Linked DNA regions of Homo sapiens: regions 2 and 3 are each linked to region 1. The links are contacts of gene promoters, found by promoter capture Hi-C in blood cells and fetal thymus (Javierre and others, 2016). All regions are on one chromosome and are shown on one strand. Each heading gives the region's core, a stretch centred on a gene start or on the middle of the fragment in contact. The rest is flanking DNA. Distances are from core to core; before and after follow the strand shown.

Region 1 (5,096 bases), core at 1,508-4,007:
GGGAGGAGGAGGTTGCAGTGAGCCAAGATCACGTGACTGCAACAGAGAAATTCTGTCTCAAAAGAAAAATATAACTTCATAAAAACGAAGTAGGGAGAAACAGAAAAGTTTGTCTAGATCTAGAACCATCAAAGGAATTGAATGTTTATTTTAAAATCTGTATCCCGGCCGGGCGCAGTGGCTCAAGCCTGTAATCCCAGCACTTTGGGAGGACGAGGTGGGCGGATCACAAGGTCAGAAGATCGAGACCATCCTGGCTAACATGGTGAAACCCCATCTCTACTAAAAATACAAAAAATTAGCCGGGCCTGGTGGTGGGTGCCTGTAGTCCCAGCTACTCGGGAGCCTGAGGCAGGAGAATGGCGTGAACCCGGGAGGCGGAGCTGGCAGTGAGCCGAGATGGTGCCACTGCACTCCAGCCTGGGCGACAGAGCGAGACTCCGTCTCAAAAAAAAAAAAAAAAAAAAAAAAATCTGTATCCCATCCCCTCAAAAATCTCACAAAAAAACAAAACCAAAGAAAAGTACCTGGCCCAGATGATTTTATGGACAGCAAACATTAAAAAGAACATAAAGTTTTTATCTTCTACATAATTTTTAAAAATTAATTATTTATTTTTGACAGAAAGTCTCGCTTTGTAGCCCAGACTGGAGTGCAGTGGCGTGATCTCTGCTCACTGCAACCTCTGCCTCCCAGGTTCAAGCAATTATCCTGCCTCAGCCTCCAGAGTAGCTGGGATTACAGGTGTGCCCGGCTAATTTTTTGTATTTTTAGTAGAGATGGGGTTTCACCATGTTGGCCAGGCTGTTCTTGAACTCCCGACCTCCGGTAATCCGCCCACCTCGGCCTCCCAAAATGCTAGTTTTACAAGCGTAGGCCACAGTGCCCAGCCTAGATAATCTTTCAGAAAAAGAAGCAAATGGAATTCTCCCCAACTCACTGTGAATTTAGTATAGGCTTAAAACCAAACCAGACATAAATAGTACAAGGAGGCAAAAGTATGGACTAACTTCTTATGGACATATATGCAAAAACGCTAAATAAAATATTAGCAAATAATCCAGCAATGGATTAAACATGTATCACGACCAAGTTGGGGTTTTCCTAGGAAACTAAGATTATGTAATAAAAGAAAAAACTATTAAAGTAGTACAAACTATCAAAGGAAAAAACCTGTATGATCATTGCAACAGGTTCATTTGCGACATAATACAATTTTTTTCTTTTTTTTTTTTTAAGTCTTTTTGGCTGTAAGTTTATTCAATGCAAAATAATCCTCTCCAATTCTACTGAGGTGGCTGACGGTGTCCACGACCAAATTTGCCTCTAAACTGGAATTCGGTTGCTGACCCAGCCCCAGCCTCGGCTTTCTTGTCGGCACCAGGGGGCACAGCACTCCTTCTGTAGGTATCTCTGTCGGCTTCTCCTCTTGTGAGTCTTGCAGGTCGCTCACCCTCCAGACCTTTAGACCGAGGCCTGCCAGTCCCTGGACGGCTGCGGCGTAGGGTGGCAGGCACAATCTCCAGGGGCAGATGAAGGTAATCACGGAGATACTGGATATCCTCATTGGTAAGGTACCAGTAGACATGTCTCCAGGCAAACTGTTCCTTCACGTAGTAGCCTCGGGACTACATGACAGGAAGGTTGGGCACACACATTCTTTTTTTTTTGAGAGGAGTCTCACTCTGTCGCCCAGGCTGGAGTGCAGGGGCGCGATCTCGGCTCACTGCAACCTCCGCCCCCTGGGTTCAAGCAATTCTCCTGCCTTGGCCTCCCGACTAGCTGGGATTACAGGTGTCTGCCACCGCGCCTGGCTAATATTTTTGTATTTTTAGTAGACACGGGTTTCACCATCTTGGCCAGGCTGGTCTTGAACTCCTGACCTCGTGATCCGCCCGCCTCGGCCTCCCAAAGTGCTGGGATTACAGGCCTAAGCCACCGCGCCCGGCCGGGCACATTCTTGTCTGCCAACTCCAGGTGCTTAGGCATGTGGACATCCTTCTTGACCACCGTGACTTCCTCTTTAAAAAGGAGTTCATAAATGGCAATCCGGTTTTTCTTAGGCATCAGCATTCTGGGGAGGAGCAGCCGCTAAGGTGGCAGGGTGGCCCGGATGGGGGCCGATGGAACTCGAACTCCCCCAGAATTTCTTTAATATTTTATATATATATATATATATATATACATATATATATGTATATATATACACATATATATACATATATATATACGTATATATATATGTATATATATACATATATATATACGTATATATATATACGTATATATATATGTATATACATATATATATACATATATGTTGCTCGCTTATTCTTTTTGTCTGTTCCCTTATGTACCGGGAGTGCCAGGAGGACAGGGCTTTGTGTTTTCCTCACTGCTGTCTGGCTCATGCATAGCACAGTCCTTGGCACACGGTAAACACGCTGAGGAGAACTTTTGGGACTAGCGGACTCTGAGCATCATTCCGCTGGGCCCAGTGGGGCCTCTGAAGGGACCCGCCTTGCCCGGCTCCAGCCCAAGACCTGAGGCATGCGCACCGGCTGGCCGGCTACTTTCTTGACCGGCCAAGTGGCAGAGCGGCTGCGCGACCCAGTGCCGAGACGGACGCGAGCCGGAGATGGGGGAAGGGGAGGGGGTGGTGGTGGGGGACGGCGGCGCCTGCGCAGTGAAGGAATGTAGGCGGGGCCTCCACGACGCCTGCGCAGACGGCCGCAGCCCTGCTGGGCGCGAAGGGGCTGGCCAAGGGCGGGGCCCGCGAGGGAGGCCGGGCGGCCCGGCAAGCGGCGCTGCGGGGTAGGCTGCTTTCCTGAGGCCGGACTCAACGGGTCTCGGCTGAGCCACCGGGTGAGCTCACCGCCCAGCCCAAACCAGGAGATTGCGAGGGAGCGATGCGGTGCAGCGCGGTAAGAGCAGCAGCCGGGTTCCCGCAGTGTTCGCTGGCGGGTTGGTTTATCGCCTCAGCGCCGCCCGCGCTGCCGCGCCCGGGCGTCCCCGCAGACCCCGGCAGGCCCAGCGCCTGCGCCGTCTCTGCTCCTGGGCCCCTCCAGTGTGTCCCGCGCCTGCGCCTTTCCCTTCCCGCGCCGTCCTCGTTCTGGGCTTCGGGGCTTCTGGAACAACCCGCAGGCTTCGCCGCCGAGACCCACTGGCCTTCGTCCGTTGGTGTTGGGGTTCAGCTGGTTCTGGGACCCCGCTTGCGGCTTGACTGTGTGCAGACAGGCCGGGTGCGACCCTCGTGCTTGCCTTTCCGCCGCTCCGGGAGAGGCTGGGGCTGCCGCCCCATCGCCCGGGTCCCTTGCCTGGGGCGGGGACAGCGTTGTTCAGTGGCCCCGAGGGCGCAGAGCGGAGGAGCAGGGGCCACAGGCGGCGGACCCCGGGCCTGCTGCCGGTGCTGCTTCTGCTGTGGCCGGCGCCCGAGGCGGACGGAACGTCCTTTTTTCTTGAGACGTGGTTAATTGCATCAGGTTGGATGTGAATAATCCGGTACCTGTCTGAGGAAATTTTGCGTTTCCAGGAATTTGGTAATTGTATTACCTTAAGTAGTTAAGTCTAAGACATCATAGTCGCGGCACGTTGGGCAAGCTGCCCTGGAGATGACGAAAAGAAATCAGTTTCCAGTAGTTTTAGCCCATTTACAGAACACGCAAAAATTCTGTGATCATTCAAATGCGGGGAACCTTGATTTGTTGATATCCTTGATCATTTGTCCAAGTACCAGAAGGGCGAGGAAAAGATTCCCGTGAACAGCCCAGGTGATTTCAGGGAACAGTGTTTTCTTTTGTCAAAAGAGCCTCTTAAGCCATGATAATATTTCCCAAGCTTATAACAGATACAAGCCTTTAAAAAATGGCATTTGCTGTCACCCAGTAGGACACATCTTGAGATGAAATCAGAGCTGTAGGCTTTGTAGACAACAGCAGTCATTTCTGGTGGCTTCAGGGAGTGGAGGGGGACTGCAATTTTGCCAATGTAGGTGATACCAAAGGGACTATAGTAATTTTTTCTTCGTAATTAAAAACCAGGCCAGGCGCGGTGCCTCATGCCTGTAATCCCAGCACTTTGGGAGGCCGGGGCGGGCGGATCACCTGAAGTCAGGAGTTCAAGACCAGCCTGACCAACATGGTGAAATCCTGTCTCTACTAAAAATACAAAAAGCGCGCGCCTGTAATCCCAGCTACTCAGGAGGGTGAGGCAGGAGAATCGCTTGAACCCGGGAGGCGGAGGTTGCAGTGAGCCGAGTTCGCGCCACTGTACCCCAGCCTGGGCTACAGAGCGAGGCTCCGTCTCAAAAAAACAAAAACCAGATATAACAAGGCCGAGCTCCCTGGCTCACGCCTGTAATCACAGTAGTTTGGGAGGCCGAGGCGGGTGGATCACCTGAGGTTAGGAGTTCGATACCAGCCTGGCCAACATGGTGAAACCCCGTCTCTACAAAAAATATAAAAATTAGTCGGGCGTGGTGGCACACGCTTGTGATCCCAGCGGCTCGGGAGGCCGAGACAGGAGAATTGCTTAGGAGGCAGAGGGTGCAGTGAACCGAGGTCTCGCCACTGCACTCCAGCCTGGGCGACAGAGTGAGACTCTGTCTCAAAAAAAAAAAAAAACAGCTATTACAATATACATGTATGTTGTAAAATAACCAAACCAACATAGAAGGGTATATAGTGAAAGGAGAAGTATTGTTGTGGGTAAAATTGTTTCAATAAATGGCTAATCCAGTATTTTTTTCCTCCAAAAAAACACCTTTTCCCCTTTGATTTAGTGTATACCACACAGAGTCGCTTAGCCGATTCAGTGACTTTTTTGATAGCTGGAGAATGCTTCCTAATGGTTGCAGGTGTGTAGGGGTTTTCTTGACATTTTCAGTAAGAAAGTGAATGTTGTGCCATAGGAAAGCTTTATCACAGGTGCACGTTGGTAGCCAACTAAATAACGTGAGTGTCAAGTACAGTATCTAGTGAGTGGAGAATAACTGTAATAATTACAATTACAGTTGTAGTTAAAGTGAAGTTTGTATCAAAATTTCTGTTTCAAAGGTGAACTTTTAGGAGGTGTATCTGCGGTGTTTCTTCCTCAGA
Region 2 (5,096 bases), core at 1,712-4,211, 380 kb before region 1:
TGTTTCTCTTGCTTGGAATCTGGCACTCTAGCTGGAGAAAATTATCTGCTTTTAAGAGTTCATGTGATTAGATTGGGTGTACCCAGATGCTCCATGCTAATCTCCCTATTATGCACAGATGCATAATCCTAATTGCATCTGTGAAGTGCTTTTTGCCAGGTAACATGGCATACTTGTAGGTTCCAGGGATTAGTGCTTGTCCTCCCCCTGCTATTCTTTAGTGGGCAGGGGGTCATCTGCCTACCACGGAGGTAAGGGGTCAGGAGGTATGCATACAGCAATGCCCAAAAAGAGACTGTCCCCACTGGGATGGAGTTTACCGCCTAGACATGCAGTCTTAACTCAGAAATATGGAGATAGCCTCGAAGGACAGGACAGGTACTGGGCACGTGTGGGAATGGACCAAGCCAGGTGCTCCGGGGGCTTTCCCAAGGAACTAAGGCTGAGCCAAGAACTGAAGGATGAGTTGGAGTCAGATGAGGGAAAATGTGGGCAAACTGGATTTCAGAACCAACCCCCAACCCTGGAGCCAGGAGCCATGGTACTGAAGGACAGTGCGCCATAACTCAGAGAACCAGGGAGGGTTGGCGGAGGCTCACAGGGACCGGGTTACCCCAGGGCCTTGTGACAGTACTACCCCTAGTATCAGAGGAGACTGTCATTGGCATTTAGGCCACTTGGTGCTCATAACACCTCTATGTCAGGTGAACACTATTGTCATCCCCAAATTACAGATGGGGAAAGTGAGCCAAATGTCCATGCTAGTAAGAGGCAAATCATATCACTTCTTTGGGTACCCTTCTAGAAGGATGAGGCTGACTGCCACTGGAAACAGCTGGGGAGGGTACAAGGAGATGACAAGTGGCTCAGAGGCTGTCCTGGCTATAAGAATTAAAGAGGAAAGAAACACCAAGGGTGGCTCGACAGTCAACAAGGACAGGTTTATTTTGGAAAACAAACTTGAGAGGGGCTTCTGGCCAAGTTAGGTCAGAGCCACACTCTCTTACAAACTAAGGATATTTAAGGGTTTTGGAGGGGGTTCTTATCATAGGTTCTGAATGTTTCTGTGTGAGGGAAAGTTTATTGCGGGGATGGAATGTCTCTGGTCAGAAGGGAGGCTGTCTCCGGGTTGGCATGTTTCTGGTCAGAGAAGGGTTTATCTTAGGGTTGGAATGTTTCTGGTTATGCTGACATTAGCTATTAGGCTGATATTTTCGGGCTGGATTTAGGCGGCTTTTAATTAAGGGGGAACTTAGAATGGTGGTGTTTGTTCAAGATGGCAATGCTCCTGCTCCGTCACTGGCCAGGTAAGGCAACCCTTTGTTATGGTAACAACCTGAGATTGGCAGGGGCTCACCTCCAGGGGCAGCTCATGTGCTTGCTGGCGAGGCTGCACCTTGTCATTCAGGTTCACAGGGCACAGGTCAACCAGGCCCTGGCTCTTCAGTCTTCTGCCTGGAGTGACTTATGTAATTCTGCTCAGCTTTCATAGGGCACAGGGAGTCGGGGCTAACTCTGCTGCCTGGGGCTGGAAACAGACTCCTCCCTTGAGGAGCAGCAGTCCACCATAGGGAAGTCACAGTGGTCCAGGCCAAAGGGGATGCAGGTAGTGTAGACTAGGCGGTAGTTCAGGGAATGGAGAGAAGTGGGAATAAAGGGATAGTGAAAGGAAGCATATTTTACTGGCAGGTGATGAGGTGTAGGAGGACAAGTCATACATTTGGACTTTACAGAGCAGTGGACACTCAGTCAGCTGCTGTCAGCGCCTGGGACTTAGGGGAGTGCCCCTGGCTGGAGACATGGTATGGAGTGCCATCAGTTAGGGAGCCCTGGGCACAGGTAAGAGAAGGTGTGACACCAGGAGGGAAAGAGTCTGGGGCCCAGCTGCAGGAACCAATACCCATAGGCTATTTGTATAAATGGGCCATGGGGCCTCCCAGCTGGAGGCTGGCTGGTGCCACGAGGGTCCCACAGGCATGGGTGTCCTTCCTATATCACATGGCCTTCACTGAGACTGGTATATGGATTGCACCTATCAGAGACCAAGGACAGGACCTCCCTGGAAATCTCTGAGGACCTGGCCTGTGATCCAGTTGCTGCCTTGTCCTCTTCCTGCTATGTCATGGCTTATCTTCTTTCACCCATTCATTCATTCATTCATTCAGCAGTATTAGTCAATGTCTCTTGTATGCCTGGCACCTGCTAGATGGTCCCCGAGTTTACCATTAGTGGAAAAGACATTTAAGAAATTCACCAAGGGCTCTATGAGAGGCCATACACGGTGGACCTGACTAGGGTGTGGCTTCCCTGAGGAGCTGAAGTTGCCCAGAGGCCCAGAGAAGGGGAGCTGAGCACGTTTGAACCACTGAACCTGCTCTGGACCTCGCCTCCTTCCCTTCGGTGCCTCCCAGCATCCTATCCTCTTTAAAGAGCAGGGGTTCAGGGAAGTTCCCTGGATGGTGATTCGCAGGGGCAGCTCCCCTCTCACCTGCCGCGATGACTACCCCGCCCCATCTCAAACACACAAGCTCACGCATGCGGGACTGGAGCCCTTGAGGACATGTGGCCCAAAGACAGGAGGTACAGGGGCTCAGTGCGTGCAGTGGAATGAACTGGGCTTCATCTCTGGAAGGGTAAGGGGCCATCTTCCGGGTTCACCGCCGCATCCCCACCCCCGGCACAGCGCCTCCTGGCGACTAACATCGGTGACTTAGTGAAAGGACTAAGAAAGACCCGAGGCGAGGCCGGAACAGGCCGATTTCTAGCCGCCAAGTGGAGAACAGGTTGGAGCGGTGCGCCGGGCTTAGCGGCGGTTGCTGGAGGAACGGGCGGAGTCGCCCAGGGTCCTGCCCTGCGGGGGTCGAGCCGAGGCAGGCGGTGACTTCCCCACTCGGGGCGGAGCCGCAGCCTCGCGGGGGCGGGGCCTGGCGCCGGCGGTGGCGTCACAAAAGGCGGGACCACAGTGGTGTCCGAGAAGTCAGGCACGTAGCTCAGCGGCGGCCGCGGCGCGTGCGTCTGTGCCTCTGCGCGGGTCTCCTGGTCCTTCTGCCATCATGCCGATGTTCATCGTAAACACCAACGTGCCCCGCGCCTCCGTGCCGGACGGGTTCCTCTCCGAGCTCACCCAGCAGCTGGCGCAGGCCACCGGCAAGCCCCCCCAGGTTTGCCGGGAGGGGACAGGAAGAGGGGGGTGCCCACCGGACGAGGGGTTCCGCGCTGGGAGCTGGGGAGGCGACTCCTGAACGGAGCTGGGGGGCGGGGCGGGGGGAGGACGGTGGCTCGGGCCCGAAGTGGACGTTCGGGGCCCGACGAGGTCGCTGGGGCGGGCTGACCGCGCCCTTTCCTCGCAGTACATCGCGGTGCACGTGGTCCCGGACCAGCTCATGGCCTTCGGCGGCTCCAGCGAGCCGTGCGCGCTCTGCAGCCTGCACAGCATCGGCAAGATCGGCGGCGCGCAGAACCGCTCCTACAGCAAGCTGCTGTGCGGCCTGCTGGCCGAGCGCCTGCGCATCAGCCCGGACAGGTACGCGGAGTCGCGGAGGGGCGGGGGAGGGGCGGCGGCGCGCGGCCAGGCCCGGGACTGAGCCACCCGCTGAGTCCGGCCTCCTCCCCCCGCAGGGTCTACATCAACTATTACGACATGAACGCGGCCAATGTGGGCTGGAACAACTCCACCTTCGCCTAAGAGCCGCAGGGACCCACGCTGTCTGCGCTGGCTCCACCCGGGAACCCGCCGCACGCTGTGTTCTAGGCCCGCCCACCCCAACCTTCTGGTGGGGAGAAATAAACGGTTTAGAGACTAGGAGTGCCTCGGGGTTCCTTGGCTTGCGGGAGGAATTGGTGCAGAGCCGGGATATTGGGGAGCGAGGTCGGGAACGGTGTTGGGGGCGGGGGTCAGGGCCGGGTTGCTCTCCTCCGAACCTGCTGTTCGGGAGCCCTTTTGTCCAGCCTGTCCCTCCTACGCTCCTAACAGAGGAGCCCCAGTGTCTTTCCATTCTATGGCGTACGAAGGGATGAGGAGAAGTTGGCACTCTGCCCTGGGCTGCAGACTCGGGATCTAAGGCGCTCTGCCCGCCGGAATCCGTTGTACCTAGGGCCACCACGTGGGGTGCTGGAGGTGAGCCGACCACGGAAGAGGGGGAGGAGGAGTTGGAGTTGGGAGGAGTCCGAGGTCTTCTAGGCCTAGACCTTTCTCTCAGCCCCACCTTCCCCAGCCTTCTTGTTGGGCAGAGGGTAGCCAGAGGACAGAAAGATCCCACCCAGAGCCACTCACTGCCATCCACTTTGTTAGGTGACTTCAGGAGAGTTTTCAGGCGGGTGGGTGGGGGAGGTGCAGAGTTCTTGGTCATACCGCCCCGTCCACCCCCGAACCCCACGCCTTGGGTTCTGCTCCCCTCAGACACCCACCAAGCCTCCGCCACAGCAGTTCCCTGAGGAAATTGGGCGTGGGGTTTCCATTGGGACCGTTCGTGTTCTGTGGTGCCACAGACATGTCTGTAAAACCTTCAGTTATGTTTGGGCGCAGTGGCACAAGCCTGTGATCCCGGCACTTTGGGAGGTGGAGGTGAGTGGAGTGTGACTCCTCTGCTTCTCTCAGTCTCCAGCCACATCTCGTCTCCAGTCCCCTGTTCACTCGGTCATCCCGCGCAGTACTGGACAGCGAGCTCTCCTTCCAGAAGAGCAATGGGGCTGGGTGGGGTGAAGATTAGGAAGAGGAAGGAGAATAGAAGCTCCAGGGAGTCTGGAAGGGTGGCACCCATCTTGGGATGGGGCACCCCTTCCATGAAGGTCTCTAAAGCAAGGCCCTCCTCAGCTTACTCCCTGCCAGCCGAGGGCCTCAGTCTCATTGTTAACTCAGTGAGAGGGCGGTGGAGCCCCTCGTCTACCTCCCAGCTGGGGGAGACATGGGGGGCATGGGATGGCTCCAGCTGTAGCGGGAAGGTCCCACTCCTCTCAGCCTGGCTTTCAGGCTTGAGGTTTCCTTCTTGGATCTGAGTACCTGTGGTGTAACAGGCACCCTCCTCGGCCCTGGCCTTTATCACATCCCCTCAGCTCCTGGGTGCCCCCAGCCCCAGCCTCCCAAGGCCTGAGGCTGA
Region 3 (5,096 bases), core at 960-3,459, 290 kb after region 1:
GCCACTGGGATTGAGGGACTGGGTTTTTTTATTTTAATTCTATTGTGTTTTAGTTAAGTTTAATTTAAATAGCTACGTGTGTACATGAGCTGCTGTATTGGACAGCTCGGGCCTGTATTATTCTCAAAACGTAATCATCTACAATTAAGGGTTAACAAATAACAGTGCAACAAATTAACATTCCAGTCCCCCTCCCCTGACACACACAGTATTGGCTAATGGTCCTTTAGCTGAAGATTAAGGGACATAGGGTAGCGGGGACACATGACCCATGGGAGATGCTCTCTTTTCATTCCTAGTTTTACTTCTGTCCATCCCATCATTCCTCCTCACCCCACATCTTGCACATATTTGCCAGATAGTTTCCTCCAAACCAGGAGCTGAGCTTTTTTTTTTTTCCTTGGTAGAAAATGCAGCTTTGGTGTTTTTGCTAAGTTTTATGGAGTGCCAGGCCTTAAAGGAAGCATGATGTGTGCCACATGCCTTTTCAGACTCTGAAAGATGAACTGACTGTTGTCTCTCTCATTGTAGAACTCTCTTCCTGCCAAGATGTCTATTGGTGTGCCGATTAAAGTACTGCATGAGGCCGAGGGCCACATTGTGACATGTGAGACGAACACCGGTGAGGTATATCGGGGGAAGCTCATTGAAGCAGAGGACAACATGAACTGCCAGGTATTCTGCTTTGCATGTGAGGCTGTGTGGGAGGAATGGCCCTGTGTCTTGAAGGACAGAAAAGTGTGTGTTGAGGGTCTCTGGAAATTGTTCTCATTCAGCAGTGATTTCCTAAGTGCCTAATGCATACCAGTCAGGTGCTGTTATAGGCTCTGGGGGTGTGGGCATGAACGAGACACATAATCTTGAGGCAGAAAAGCCATTTGGAGGTTTGGAATATTTTACTTTGTCCTTTTTGTTTTTTCCATCCCCAAATATGGGGGTCTATTTGGGAGAAGTGCTACTTCCTTCAGTAGAATCCTTCAGATTCAGGGCCATTATCCATTTGCCTCCACTTGCTTTGCGATTAGCAGAATCTTCTCACCTACTGTATTTGTTTCCCTTTTCTCTTGGAGGAGGAGTCTCATTTGATTATTGCAACTACCTTGTGAGGTAAGCAGGTTTGGTGATAGTCTTGTCATCCATAAAATAGGGAGAATGAGATTAAAGGGCTCATCACTCTGATGATAAATAATGGAGTAGTTTCCTGATATGGTGTCCTTCTCATGGCACAACTTTGCCTTTTGCATAGTCATCTGAATTTTTATAGCATTGTTTTTCAGTTGTATCTTCACACTTTCTTTGTTCTTTAAACCACTGGTTAAGAACTTGGACTTGGGAGTCAGAGAGAGATGTGGGTTTGAATCCTAATTATATGACTTTAGATGTATTAACCACTCAGTTTTCTCATCTGTAAAATGGGGGTGGTATTATGTTGGGTTCTTTGATGTAGATGCCAAGACAGAATTTTGCAAGGTATTTATTGGGGGAAATGACAATAAAGGATAAAAGAGCAAGGAAGCAGTAGTAGGCAGGGAAATTTTCAGTCTATGGTGCTGGTCTGACTGGTGAAATGAGAGGGGAAAGGAAGGAGGATTGAGCAGGAAGAGCCTTAGACTACAGCGTAGTTTTGAGGAAATCTCAGCAAGGCAGCGATTGCTCGTTAGAAGAGTCTAGCATGGGGCAGAAATGGGCGGACTGGCACCCCCGGTGTGTTCAGGCTGGCAACATGGGGAGAGAGTAGCCTCAAGTTGAATGCCATGGTGGACTGCAAAGATGGAGATTGTCGGCTGCCTGCACTCCTCATAGCCTGTTCTCTTTTGAAGGGAGATGTGAGCAGCACACCCTTAAGACTGCCACAGGGGTAATATCCACACCCCCAGGACTTTTACAAAGATCAGATGAGCTGTATGTGTGCCATAGCTGCTCAGTGCCTCACATACTGTGAGTGTTCAACATATGATACCTATTGCTTTTTTCCAGATGAGAAGGTCAGAGAGGTAAAGCACCTTACACCGCGGTCAGGCATCCTGACCATCCATTGGTTTGCAGGGTTCATTTATTTGTGATTTTTCTGTAGCTTTGAGCGTCTGTCATCTTCCTGCGAGGTTGACAAGCTTGGTCAGTTCCCTGAATGCAGAGAAGTAGACCTCTGGTGACTCAGGTTTATTGCATTACTGTCAATAGATCAGTTTATCTATTGAGGGTAGATAAGTTTATCATCTCTCATATATCCAGTCCTCTGGCTTAAGGCATGCTCATCCACTTTAAGGTTCTTTAATTTGGTGAGGAGAATGCAAGACTTGGGTTAGTGAAGCTTAATGGGTTTGTTCAATTAGCTGTATGTATTTGGACAACTTGCTGGGTTTCCAGGGCCTTTGTCATCCCATCCGTAACGTGAAGGTGTCTAACCAGATAACCTTGGTAGCCATTCAGAGATGCAGTCAACATGACACAAAGTGCACAGACCTTGGTGTCCGACAGACCTGGAATCAGCTTGTAGCCTGCCCCCTAGGGTGACTTGGGGCGAGCTTAGCTTTGGACCTCCTTCATCCTCTGGTCCCTCCTCTAAATCAGGGATAAAAATAGCACCTTGGCCTCAGAAGGAACCATGCCTGACCAATGGTGGGGGACAGCCACCTGCCTCCCTGCTTGTATTTGTATGCTAGTGCTACCATAACAAAGTTTCACAGACTGGGCAGCTTAGACAACACAAATTTATTTTCTCATAGTTCTGAAGGCTGGAAGTCTGAGATCAAGGTGTTGGCAAGGCTGGTTTCTTCTGAGGAATGTGAAGGAAGGATCTGTTTCAGGCCTCTCTCCTTGCTTATATATGGCTCTCTTCCTGTGTCTTCACTTGGTCTTCCCTCTGTAGTGTTTCTGTCCAGATTCTTCTTATAAGGATACCATGCATGTAGGATTAGGGCCCACTCTAATGACTTCATCTTAACATAATTATGTTTATAAAGAATTTTTTTTTTTTTTTTTTTGAGATGGAGCCTTGCTCTGTCACCCAGGCTGCAGTCTTGCTCTGTCACCCAGGCTGGAGTGCAGTGGCGCGATCTTGGCTCACTGCAACCTCTGCCTTCCAGGTTCAAGCGATTCTCCTGCCTCAGCCTCCTGAGTAGCTGGGACTACAGGCATCTGCCACCATGCCCAGCTAATTTTTGTATTTTTATATTTTTAGTAGAGACAGGTTTCACCATATTGGCCAGGCTGGTCTCGAACTCCTGACCTTGTGATCTGCTCGCCTCGACCTCCCAAAGTGCTGGGATTACAGATGTGAGCCACCATGCCCAGCTTGCTTGCTTTTTTTTTTTTTTTTTTTTTTTTTTTTTTTTTTTTTTGAGAGTCTCACTCTGTCGCCCAGGCTGGAGTGCAGTGGCATGATCTCAGCTCACTGCAACCTCTGCCTCCTGGGTTCAAGCACTTCTCATGCCTCAGCCTCCTGAGTAGCTGGGACTATGCCCAGCTAGTTTTTCGTATTTTTAGTAGAGATAGGGTTTCCCCATGTTGCCCAGGCTGGTCTCAAACTCCTGAGTTTGCCTCAGCCTCCCAAGTGCTAGGATTACAGGCGTGAGCCACTGCACCTGGCCTTTTTTTTTTTTTTTTTTTTTTTTTTTTTTGAGACAGAATCTTGCTCTGTTGTCCAGGCTGGAGTACAGTGGCACAATCTCAGCTCACTGCAAACCTCCGTCTTCCCGGGTTTAAGCAACTCTCTTGCCTCAGCCTCCTGAGTAGCTGGGGTTATAGGCATGGGCCACCGTACCCCACTAATGTTAATATTTTTTGTATTTTTAATAGAGATGGAGGCTCATCATGTTGCCCAGGCTGGTCTCTAACTCCTGAGCTGAGGCAATCTGCCCACCTTGGCCTCCCAAAGTGCTAGGATTACAGGCATGAGCCACTGCACCCAGCCTTTTTTTTCTTTTCCTTTTTCTTTTCTTTTTTTTTTTTTTTTTTTTTTTTTGAGATTAAGCTTTGGTCTGTTGACCAGGCTGGGGTGCAGTGGTTTGATCATAGCTCATGGGCAGCCTTGGACTTCTGGGCTCAAGAGATCTTTTCACCTCAGTCTTCTAAGTATCCAGGACTACCAGTGTGCCCCACCATACCTGGCTAATTTTTAAATTTTTTTGTAGAGACGGAGTCTTGATATGTTTTTCAGGCCAGTTTCAAACTCCTGGCCACAAGTGATCCTGCTGCCTCAGTCTCTCAAACTCCTGGAATTACAGGCATGAGCCACCACATCTGGCCTGTAAAGATTTTTTGTCTCTAAATATGATCACATTCTGAGGTGCTGGGTATTAGGACTTCAACAATGAATTTTTTTGAGGGATACAATTTAGCCTGTAACAGGATGTAGAGGCCTCACTGGGTCTATCAAAACCTAGGCACATTGAATAAGAGCCAGCAGACTGTGGCGTAGCTAAAGCTGGTGGTGGGTGAACTCTGAGCACAGTTTAGTTTGTTCAGCACATCTCAGGCTGTGAGGCTTGCCTGTCCTTCCCAGATCCAGTCATTCTGCCTTTTGGGAATGAGAACATCCTCTTAGCACTTTTCCTTGCTTGTTCAATAACATTTTCTGTTATAAAAGTGGGGTGGGACAAAATGTGGTGGCTACTCCTATAATCCCAACACTTTGAGAGGCTGAGGCAGGAGGATCACTTGAGCCCAGGGGTTCAAGACCAACCTGGGCAACATGACAAGACTTTGTCTGTAAAAAAAATAAAATAGACGGATGTGGTGGCACATGCCTGTAGTCCCAGCCATTCAGGTGGAGGCTGAGTTGGGACGATTACTTGAGCCCAGGAAGTCAAGGCTGCAGTGAGCTATGGAGTGCCACTGCACTCCAGCCTGGGCGACGGAGTGAGACCTAGTCTCACACACACACAAAAGCACACCACAACGATTCGGAAAAGATAAATAGAGGATCTCACTCTGTTGCCCAGGCTAGTCTTGCACTCCTGGACTTAAGCGATCCTCCCACCTTGGCCTCCCAAAGTATTGGAATTACAGGCCTAAGCCACACCTGCCCTGTTTTGGGGTTTTAGTATTTACTTTTTATTCTATCCTCTTTCAGAAATAGTTAGACCCTGTCTCTT

Evidence for each region. Contacts are between HindIII fragments. The CHiCAGO score rates a contact against its expected background, and 5 or more counts as called.
Region 2: the fragment with the promoter of MIF here is called in contact with the fragment with the promoter of SPECC1L-ADORA2A in region 1 in 2 of 17 cell types (erythroblasts and neutrophils); the score reaches 5.6 in erythroblasts.
Region 3: a fragment that was not itself captured here is called in contact with the fragment with the promoter of SPECC1L-ADORA2A in region 1 in 4 of 17 cell types (monocytes, erythroblasts, naive CD4 T cells and 1 more); the score reaches 6.4 in monocytes.

What each region holds. Positions count from the first base shown.
Region 1 is chr22:24,268,060-24,273,155 of GRCh38, forward strand. SPECC1L-ADORA2A (SPECC1L-ADORA2A readthrough (NMD candidate)) reads left to right here and starts at 2,758. Exons shown (of 20, transcript NR_103546.1): 1 at 2,758-2,924. SPECC1L (sperm antigen with calponin homology and coiled-coil domains 1 like) reads left to right here and starts at 2,772. Exons shown (of 17, transcript NM_015330.6): 1 at 2,772-2,924. It also overlaps the pseudogene RPS10P29. RefSeq lists a silencer at 2,561-3,090 and an enhancer at 3,151-3,230. The HindIII fragment of the contact is 24,380 bases long and covers 1-3,835 here.
Region 2 is chr22:23,891,422-23,896,517 of GRCh38, forward strand. It overlaps MIF (macrophage migration inhibitory factor), which reads left to right and starts at 2,962. Exons shown (of 3, transcript NM_002415.2): 1 at 2,962-3,161; 2 at 3,351-3,523; 3 at 3,619-3,802. The coding sequence starts at 3,054. The coding sequence ends at 3,685. MIF-AS1 (MIF antisense RNA 1) reads right to left here. Exons shown (of 3, transcript NR_038911.1): 2 at 4,408-4,689; 3 at 2,289-4,111. RefSeq lists enhancers at 2,637-3,444, 3,445-4,252. The HindIII fragment of the contact is 28,199 bases long and covers 1-5,096 here.
Region 3 is chr22:24,557,126-24,562,221 of GRCh38, forward strand. It overlaps SNRPD3 (small nuclear ribonucleoprotein D3 polypeptide), which reads left to right. Exons shown (of 4, transcript NM_004175.5): 2 at 532-675. The coding sequence starts at 550. Among named protein-coding and RNA genes, the nearest start is that of SNRPD3, 3.7 kb to the left of the region's middle. RefSeq lists enhancers at 2,404-2,453, 4,788-5,096. The HindIII fragment of the contact is 200 bases long and covers 2,110-2,309 here.